Regions from separate parts of the Homo sapiens genome. Here regions 1 and 2 are each linked to region 3. The links are contacts of gene promoters, found by promoter capture Hi-C in human tissues and cell types (Jung and others, 2019). All regions are on one chromosome and are shown on one strand. The core of a region is centred on a gene start or on the middle of the fragment in contact, and the rest is flanking DNA. Distances in the headings are between cores, read along the strand shown. Region 1 overlaps NUP43 (nucleoporin 43). Region 2 overlaps SYNE1 (spectrin repeat containing nuclear envelope protein 1). Region 3 holds the start of MTHFD1L (methylenetetrahydrofolate dehydrogenase (NADP+ dependent) 1 like).

The links. The method cuts DNA at HindIII sites, captures the fragments that hold promoters and counts their contacts. A contact is called where the count stands out against the background at its distance.
Region 1: a contact is called between a fragment that was not itself captured here and the fragment with the promoter of MTHFD1L in region 3, in 1 of the 25 tissues and cell types used here (dorsolateral prefrontal cortex).
Region 2: a fragment that was not itself captured here is called in contact with the fragment with the promoter of MTHFD1L in region 3 in 1 of the 25 tissues and cell types used here (dorsolateral prefrontal cortex).

The regions. Positions count from the first base shown.
Region 1 is chr6:149,722,378-149,725,553 of GRCh38, reverse strand. NUP43 (nucleoporin 43) reads left to right here. Exons shown (of 8, transcript NM_198887.3): 8 at 1-1,239. Among named protein-coding and RNA genes, the nearest start is that of LATS1, 5.9 kb to the right of the region's middle. RefSeq lists a silencer at 825-1,027. The HindIII fragment of the contact is 3,959 bases long and covers 1-3,176 here.
Region 2 is chr6:152,330,058-152,333,128 of GRCh38, reverse strand. It overlaps SYNE1 (spectrin repeat containing nuclear envelope protein 1), which reads left to right. Exons shown (of 146, transcript NM_182961.4): 78 at 1,239-3,071. Among named protein-coding and RNA genes, the nearest start is that of SYNE1-AS1, 49 kb to the left of the region's middle. The HindIII fragment of the contact is 4,614 bases long and covers 1-3,071 here.
Region 3 is chr6:150,864,328-150,867,528 of GRCh38, reverse strand. MTHFD1L (methylenetetrahydrofolate dehydrogenase (NADP+ dependent) 1 like) reads right to left here and starts at 1,827. Exons shown (of 28, transcript NM_015440.5): 1 at 1,480-1,827. The coding sequence starts at 1,706. RefSeq lists silencers at 656-805, 926-1,125, 1,286-1,695, 1,756-1,985. The HindIII fragment of the contact is 14,014 bases long and covers 1-3,201 here.

The DNA of each region.
Region 1 (3,176 bases), core at 197-2,696, 1.1 Mb after region 3:
GAAATGGCATGATCTCAGCTCACTGCAACCTCCGTCTCTTAGGTTCAAGCAATTCTCCTGCCTCAGCCTCCCGAGTAGCTGGGATTACAGGTGCTCACCACCACACCCAGCTAATTTTTGTATTTTTAGTAGAGATGGGGTTTCACTGTGTTGGCCAGGCTGGTCTTGAACTGACCTCATGATCCACCTGCCTCAGCCTCCCAAAATGCTGGGATTACAGGCTTGAGCCACTGCTCCCGGCTGATTTTTGTATTAGTAGAGACGACAGGGTTTCACCATGTTGGCCAGGGCTGGTCTCGAACTCCTGACCACAGGTAATCAGCCCGCCTCGGCCTCCCAAAGTGCTGGGATTACAGGCGTGAGCCACTTAGTATTTGTAACCATAAGAGAAAGTATATTTTAACAGCATTACATTTCATGCCAATTGACAAGTTTTGCCAATTTTAATAAGAAACTAAGCTTTATGTAATGTAACACCGTAATTTATGAATTTGTTCATTGTCACTGCCTTTATTCATGAAACTGTCAAATAGAGTGTCTTTCAAGGGTTGCAGGATCTTAGAGATAGAAAGTACCTTGGTGATCATCTCCAGCCTAAATTTCATCATCCCTTCTATGGTATTCCCAACAAATTATCATCCAACCTATACTTAAAAACATATGGTGGCCAGGCATGGTGGCTCACGCCTGTAATGCTAGCACTTTGGGAGGCCGAGGTGGGTGAAGCACCTGAGGTCAAGAGTTCGAGATCAGCCTGGCCAACATGGCGAAACCCCGTCTCCACTAAAAATGCAAAAAAAAAATTAACCGGGCGTGGTGGCAGGCATCTATAATCCCAGCTACTTGGGAGGCTGAGGCAGGAGAATTGCTCAAACCCGGGAGGCAGAGGTTGCAGTGACCCAAGATCGTGCCACTTCACTCCAGCCTGGGCAAAAGAGCAAAACGCCATCTCAAAAAATATACATATATAAGGAGATAAAGTTTCCCATTTTCCAATACAGTTTCACATTTGAACAGCCCTAATTGATACAACTTTATGGCAGGGTTTTAGTGTGTGAGTGGGATCCAAAACACTCAATCCTGTAAAAGGGTACAGTCCTATTGTATGTTAACACACTGATGATGTGAGCCTGTGAGATGAGCCAATCACCAGTTGTTATGTTCGAATCTGCTTTGTGTTGGGACGCTTTAATGTCAGGGTTTCACTAAATAAATGAATTTTCATATACTGAACTGAAATTTGCTTCTATCTGTCTTATCTCGGGAGCCACACACACAAAATTCCTCTCATCACATATTCAAATATTCAAAATTGATTATTATAGTCTCTCCAGTGAAGGTTTCCTTCTCTTTCTTTCCATTTTTGGCTAAATCCTTCTTATCCTTCAAGACTCCTTCTAGGTGTCATTTTCTCCAGACAGCTTTTATTGGCCTCCAGCAATCCGGACTAAATTGCACTCTGCTTCAAAAGCCCATTGTGCAGAACTTAAATTGTGCGCAAAGCAGTGTGTTAAGGAGCCTGTCTCCCCCTACTGGGCCACAAGATCAAGAACAGCGCCCATGTCTTCGTGTAACAGTGTTTAACAGTATCTGAACCATAGTAAGCAATGAGTCACTGTTAATTGACCTTGTTTTCACAATCTTGTTTTCCCTTTAAAAATTACTGCTCTTTGTCAAAGGCCTTTTTTTTTTTTTTTGAGACTTTAAGTCTCGCTCTGTCGCCCAGGCAGGAGTGCAATGGCACGATCTCAGCTCACTGCAACCTCTGCCTCCCAGGTTCAAGCAATTCTCCTGTTTCAGCCTCCCGAGTAGCAGGGATTACAGGTGTGCGCCCAGCTAATTTTTTGTATTTTTAGTAGAGACAGGGTTTCACCATGTTGGCCAGGCTGGTCTTGAACTCCTGACCTCAAGTGATCCACCCTCCTCCACCTCCGAAAGTGCTGGGATTATAGGCATGAGCCACCGTGCTCGGCCAGAGGCCTTCTTTTAAGTGTGACTTCCAAGATAAACACTTTTTCATATATTGTCTACCTTGGTGATTATGACAGAAATCTTGCCATCCTGTTAATAGGAATGATATTCCTTTGTAATGCTGTGTCAGCTTTCTGAAGTGTTCACATGTGATACTCCTAAGCCACACTTCCTATATTCGGAAGTTAATACAAATGGTTTTTAATCCTTAATATGGGCCTTTCTTGTTCTAAGAAAAATTTCATTTCAATATAGGAAAGGACTAACTATTTTCTTTGAATCTTTTGTAGAAGCTATTATTTTCTCCATAATTAGCCCAGCGTGCTCTCTCCACTTTCATCCCATTGATTAAGAAAGATGTTTGAGACAGGATTTCACTCTGTCACCCAGGCTGGAGTGCAGTGGTGTGATCCCCAGCTCACTACAGCCTCGATATCCTGGGCCCAAGTGATCCTTCCACCTCGGTCTCCCAAGTATCTGGGACTGCAGGCATGTACCACCAAGCCTGACTAATTTTTGCAATTTTTATTGAGATGGTGTTTCACTATATTGCCCAGGCTGGTCTTGAACTCCTGGGCTCAAGCAATCTACTTGCCTTGGCCTCCCGAAGTGCTAGGATTACAGGCAAGAGCCACCATGCCCAGCCAGAAAGATGTTAAATGAAATGAAGTTTTTAGGCCCACTGCTGGAGTCTTCTCAATTATCAATGAAACATGAATCTCTGGTATTTGGCTACAGTTACTGAAATATTTATAAAACAACCTAATTTATTGACATTTCATTCCATTTATCTTATTTCCAAGGTTATTGTGAGAAAATGTGCTGTAGTTATACTATCAAAAATTTGGCATAATTGAAAAATTCCTGGTCCTTTGTGAATAGTACTTTTATTTAATTGTATTGTGGAAACATCCTTTTAATAATCCACTCTAGACTCTTGTCCAAGAAGCATATTAAATTCAACAGTATATAGTTTATATTGAACCTTTAGTTAAGCTTATGGTGTCAATAGTATCTAGCTCAGACTAATAGAAGGTCTGGCCAGGTGCAGTGGCTCACGCCTGTAATCCCAGCACTTTGGGAGGCCAAGGGGGGTGGATCACCTGAGATCAGGTGTTCAAGACCAACATGGTGAAACCCCGTCTCTACTAAAAACACAAAAATTAGCCTGGCCTGGTGGCAGGCACCTGTAGTCCCAGCTACTC
Region 2 (3,071 bases), core at 205-2,704, 1.5 Mb before region 3:
CTTCTGCACCGATTTACTAGTTTACAGCAAAGAAAACTGCAAATATTGTTCTAGATATCATGAAATCATAGTGGGGATTTGGGGTTTTTTTGGTATACCATTTTCTGGTTTGTTTGCTTTTCTTTGATACTTAACATTTACTCGTCTTTGGGATTAGTCCAGTAAATATTAACAACTCATATTTCTGGCTCACAGTAGGCCCCACAGACACCTGAGACTTAACAGGTCCAAAACAGAACTCCTCATACTGCCTCCCAACCCTGCTTTTCATACTTCAGAACTGATCATTTAGTAAAAAAGACTACAATATTCCATTTTTTATGTGTGCTTCATAGTCAAAGGGATGAGAATTCTTTACATTTCACACTTATTACTAAAGATTACTAATGATAAGCAAAAAATATCCAAGTACACAATTAAGTAGCCATTAGATCTGTTGGTTATACCTTACAGATTGTACTACCTAGAACTATATTGTTTGTTGGACCCTCTTCACAAAAGAAAGCACATAAATCATGCATCACTTATTAATTTCTTTCAGTATCATTTTCTAGAGTACACTAGATCAGTGCTTCTCACTGTTTAACATTACACAAAACATCCAAGGATCCTGTTACCATATAGATTCTGCTCAGTTGATAAGAGCCAGAGGAAGATAAAAGCATATTCTGATTTGATTGGAAGGCATTATCAGCCAGAAAGAAGTAGGCAACTTGGTTTGATTCAACTTCTAGTATTGACTTCTGATGAGACTTGTATTCCATAATTATAGCACTTCTGTCAACAAACCATGAATTGAACTACTCTCAATTGTTCTAAGCTCAGAAGATCCACTTAAAGAAATGGTGAAGTGTCAGCCAGGAGTAGTGGCTCATGCCTGTAATCCTAGCACTTTGGGAGGCTGAGGCAGGTGGATCACCTGAGGTCAGGAGTTAGAGACCAGCCTGACCAACATGGTGAAACCCTGTCTCTACTAAAAATAGAAAATTAGCCGAGCATGGTGGCACATGCCTGTAATCTCAGCTACTTGGGAGGCTGAGGCAGGAGAATCGCTTGAACCTGGGAGGCGGAGGTTGCCGTGAGCTGAGATCAGAGCATTCATTGCACTCCAGCCTGGGAAACAAGAGCAAAACTCAGTCTCCAAAAAGAAAATGGTGAAGTGTAATTTAGCATAGTATGAACAAACATCGATATTGACTACAGCTAATTTGCTCTTATACCTTTCCATGTATTTTCAGATCTGATGCAGAGAGTACAGCTGTCCACCTGGAAGCTTTGAAAAAGTTAGCATTGGCATTGCAGGAGAGAAAGTATGCTATTGAAGATCTGAAAGATCAAAAGCAGAAAATGATAGAGCATCTGAATTTAGATGACAAGGAGTTAGTCAAAGAACAGACGAGTCATTTAGAGCAACGTTGGTTTCAGCTTGAGGACCTCATTAAAAGGAAAATCCAAGTGTCAGTCACCAACTTGGAGGAGTTAAATGTGGTGCAGTCCAGATTTCAGGAGCTAATGGAGTGGGCAGAAGAGCAACAACCCAACATCGCCGAGGCCCTTAAGCAGAGCCCTCCTCCAGATATGGCTCAGAACCTTCTCATGGATCACCTGGCCATCTGCAGTGAACTGGAGGCCAAGCAGATGCTCCTGAAATCGCTTATAAAGGACGCAGACAGGGTCATGGCAGATCTTGGTCTCAATGAGCGACAGGTCATCCAGAAGGCTCTCTCTGATGCACAAAGCCACGTGAATTGTCTCAGTGACTTAGTGGGCCAGCGAAGAAAGTACTTAAACAAAGCCTTGTCCGAGAAAACCCAGTTTCTCATGGCAGTGTTCCAGGCCACCAGCCAAATTCAGCAACATGAGCGAAAGATAATGTTCCGTGAACACATCTGTCTGTTACCAGATGATGTGAGCAAACAAGTCAAAACATGTAAGAGTGCACAAGCCAGCCTCAAGACTTACCAAAATGAAGTCACTGGACTTTGGGCCCAGGGTCGCGAACTAATGAAGGAAGTCACAGAGCAGGAAAAGAGTGAAGTGCTGGGGAAGCTTCAGGAATTGCAGAGTGTCTATGACAGTGTTTTACAAAAGTGCAGTCACCGGTTACAAGAACTAGAGAAGAATTTGGTTTCTAGGAAGCATTTTAAGGAAGATTTTGATAAAGCTTGCCACTGGCTAAAACAAGCAGATATTGTTACATTTCCTGAAATCAACCTAATGAATGAGAGTTCTGAGCTTCATACACAACTGGCTAAATACCAAAACATTCTTGAACAATCTCCAGAATATGAAAATCTTCTACTTACGCTGCAGAGAACTGGGCAGACCATATTACCATCGCTGAATGAAGTCGATCATTCCTACCTCAGTGAAAAGCTAAATGCTTTGCCTCGACAATTTAATGTAATTGTTGCCTTGGCTAAAGACAAGTTCTATAAAGTCCAGGAAGCAATTCTTGCTCGGAAGGAATATGCTTCCTTGATTGAGTTGACAACCCAGTCTCTGAGTGAACTTGAAGCCCAATTCTTGAGGATGAGCAAAGTTCCCACCGACCTGGCCGTTGAGGAGGCTCTTTCTCTGCAAGATGGTTGCAGAGCCATTCTGGACGAGGTGGCGGGCCTTGGGGAGGCGGTGGATGAACTGAACCAGAAAAAAGAAGGTTTTCGCAGCACAGGTCAGCCTTGGCAGCCAGACAAGATGCTGCACCTTGTCACCTTATATCACAGGCTGAAGCGACAAACAGAACAGAGGGTTAGCTTATTAGAAGACACCACCAGTGCTTACCAAGAACACGAGAAGATGTGCCAACAGCTGGAGAGACAACTGAAGTCTGTAAAAGAGGAGCAGTCCAAAGTGAATGAGGAAACGCTGCCTGCAGAGGAGAAGCTCAAAATGTATCACTCCCTGGCAGGAAGTCTCCAGGACTCAGGGATTGTACTGAAACGAGTAACCATACATCTTGAAGATCTTGCCCCACACCTTGACCCCTTGGCTTATGAGAAAGCCAGGCATCAGATCCAGTCCTGGCAAGGGGAGTTAAAACTGTTGACTTCTGCCATTGGTGAGACGGT
Region 3 (3,201 bases), core at 578-3,077:
CAGACTCTAACCGGTAAGATGAGTCTCAGCAACGTGCAGGTTAAAACCTAATGACCTGACGTGTAATTAATCCCAGCGCTTTTGGGGGCAGGGATGATGGCTTGCGCCCAGGAGTTCCAGACCAGCCTGGTAACAGAGTGGTGCTCTGTCTCTATGAAAATAAAATAAAATAATCCGGGCATGGTAGCGCACACCTGTGGTCCCAGTTACACTGGAGGCTAAGGCGGGAGAATCGCTTGAGCCCAGGAGGCGGAGGCTGCATTGAGCCGAGATGGCACCACTGAACTCCAGCCTGAGCAACAAAGCGAGACTCCATTTCTAAAAGAAAAAGAAGACAGAGAACAAGAAAAACTAAATAAATGGCCCCTTAAAATCATCCGCCACATAATAAAGAGCCTAGGAAACGTATTTTACTGAGATGGGAGAAGGGGAGTGGGGAGGAAAATGGGAGAGCAGAGGGAGGAAGGAAAGGCAGAGAGAAAGGCAAGCAGGCAATGACTAAGAAAGAAGGCTAGAAGGAAAGGGAAGAGGATGTGAATGGAGGAGGTGGTCCGCTGGCCGGGGAAACCGCATCCTGGAACTCGTTCCTAATCCCAGTTCCGAGGGAGGCGGAAGGGGCTTTCTTGCCACCCCCAAGTTGTCCCGAAGGGCTCGCCCTGCAAGGCCCGAGACCCGTGCGCCCCTCTGGGCGAGGGCGGGGAAGGCTGGAGCCCAGGGGCGGGGACCGGGACGGGAAAGGCCGGGCCCGGGGCTCCCAGTTCGCTCTGGGCCCGCAGAAAACCCTGCAAACCCAGCTGCGCGGGGACTCCGTGGGCGCTGCGCGGCGAAGCTGGAAACCAGCGCTGAGACCTCTCGGATTCCCCCCGGCGGCTGTCCCGGGGGCCCGGCTCCACCTTTGCCGTTCCGGGAAAAGCGGACGTCAGCCACAGACCCCAGCCCAGCAGGAGGGGCCGCGCGCGGGGAAGGGCGCACAACACCAGGGAGCTTCGCGCGGGCGGCGCTGGGCCCGAGCCCGCCTCTCCCGAGCTCCGCTTGCCCTTCCCGAACCCCGGGCCAGCCGGCGCGCCGAGCCGCAGCCCCGCCCTCCTCCTGCTCCTCGCCCCCTCCCCTGGTTTCCGCCCCAGCCGCACCGCCCCTTTACCGTCTGGGTCGCGCCCGGCGCGATTGCATCAGAGCCGGCGGCCGGCTGCGCACGTGGAGCCGGGCGTGCGGTCCATGCCGCTAGGCGCCCATTGGAGATGCCCACGCCCACCTGCGCTGCGGGCCCGGTCGGGTACTGGATCCCCCGTTCTCCGCCAGCGCTCCCGGCCGCAGTGCCCAAGCCCGCGTTTCCCGACACACCGCCCGGCCCCCCTAATGAGTTGGCACCAAACACTCGCAGCCCCGCGCCCCGCTCCCCACGGCGGTCCCGGGCGCTCCGCCCCTGGGTCGGGGCCACAGCCGCTGGAGACCTGGGCCAGGGCCAGACCCGACACTCACCTGACGATGGAGTCCCGCGCCGCGGGCGTTCGGCCGCCGGGGCTGCAGCTGCTCCGGGCCTGGCCATCCTGCGGCCGCCGCTGTCCAAGCAGGCCCTCCCGGCCACCGCCGCCGCCTCCGCCGCCGCCGCTGCTAGCGCGACAGGGCACACGGAGGCGGCGCGGAGGGCCCGGGGGCTGGGGCGGGCGGCGGAGCTGGCGCAGGACGAGCGGCAGACGCGTGCCCATGGCGCGGGACGGCTGGTTCTCAGGGGACACGGAGCTGCGGCTGCCGAGGGCGGCGGGGCGCGTGCCAGGGGAGCAGGCGGCGGCGGCGGCGGCGGCGGCGGGAAGGACCTGGCGCTTCCTCCTCGTCCCAGGGGCCCCTAGGGGGCACTGCACCCGGCGGCCGTGACGTGCGGAGGGCGGGGGCCTGCGAGCCGCCGGCCGGGATGTCACGGCTTTGGGCACTTTGGTTTGGTAAGCTGTACCAGACAGAGGGTGGGGTGCGGAGTGGGACTCAGACTCTGCCCTGAGACTCAGCCTCCCTCCCTTCAGCCTGAAAGGCCGAGGTGACCCTTGGTACTCAGGGCGCCAAGTTTAGACGGGAGGGCTTGGATTTGCTGTACTGGAGGTGGCCTGAGGATAAGAGGCTTTGTAACCTTAGGCAGGGGCACTTAATCTCGGTGAGCTTGCGGGGTCTTCGTCAGTACCACAGAGATAACAATGCTCTTCTTAAAACCTTAAAAGGATTTTATAGTCCTGATTGGTTCCAGGGCCCCTCCAGGGGACCCACGTCCACAAATGCTCAAGTCCTTGGTAAAAAAAAAAAAAAAAAAAAGTGTTTGCATATCACCTACACACATCTTCCCATCATAAACTTTAGGTCATCTCCACATTCCCTAAGTCCTCACCTAACATCGTGGAGGGGTTCTTGGAAACTGAAACTTTAAGCCAAATGACTGTAAGGAAAACAGTTTGACCACAGGCTAATTGATATGAGTGAAGTTCCTACAACATATCTGTGGTCACAAAATCGCCCCTAAACTTCGAAATAAAGACCAAAACACTTCTAATATTAAACATTGAAATAAGTGTGAGCCATGCATATATTTAAGGAAGATTTTTAGCTCACGCCTATAATCCCAACACTTTGGGAGGCTGAGGTGGGCAGATCACGTGAGGCCAGAAGTTCAAGACCAGCTTGGCCAACATGGCGAAACCCCATCTCTACTAAAAATACAGAAAATTGGCTGGGTGTGGTGGCGCGTGCCTGTATTCTCAGCTACTCGGGAGGCTGAGGCAGGAGAATCGCTTGAACCCAGGAGCCAGAGGTTGCAGTGAGCCGAGATCATGTCACTGTACTCTAGCCTGGGCGACAGAGCACAGCTCTGTCTCAAAGAAAAAGTTTTTTTTAAACACCCCCTATCCCTCTCGCTTAGAGAAAAATAAAGATTAATAAAAGTGAGATCATTTTTACCGGCTTATTCCAACTCAGGGCACCTCACAGGGTGTGCTCACACACACCCACACTCACACTCGGATCGTGTAGATGCACCAATTTACCTAAAGTGCACTGCACGGCTTTGGGATGTGACAGGACACCAGAAGACAGAGAAAATCCACACAGACATGGATAAAACGTGACAGTGGACCCAGCCAGAAATCTATTTTTTTCTCATCATTATAAGAAAACCACTGAGCAAAATGATGAAATGATGTTATTCCAGGACCTGCTGTACTT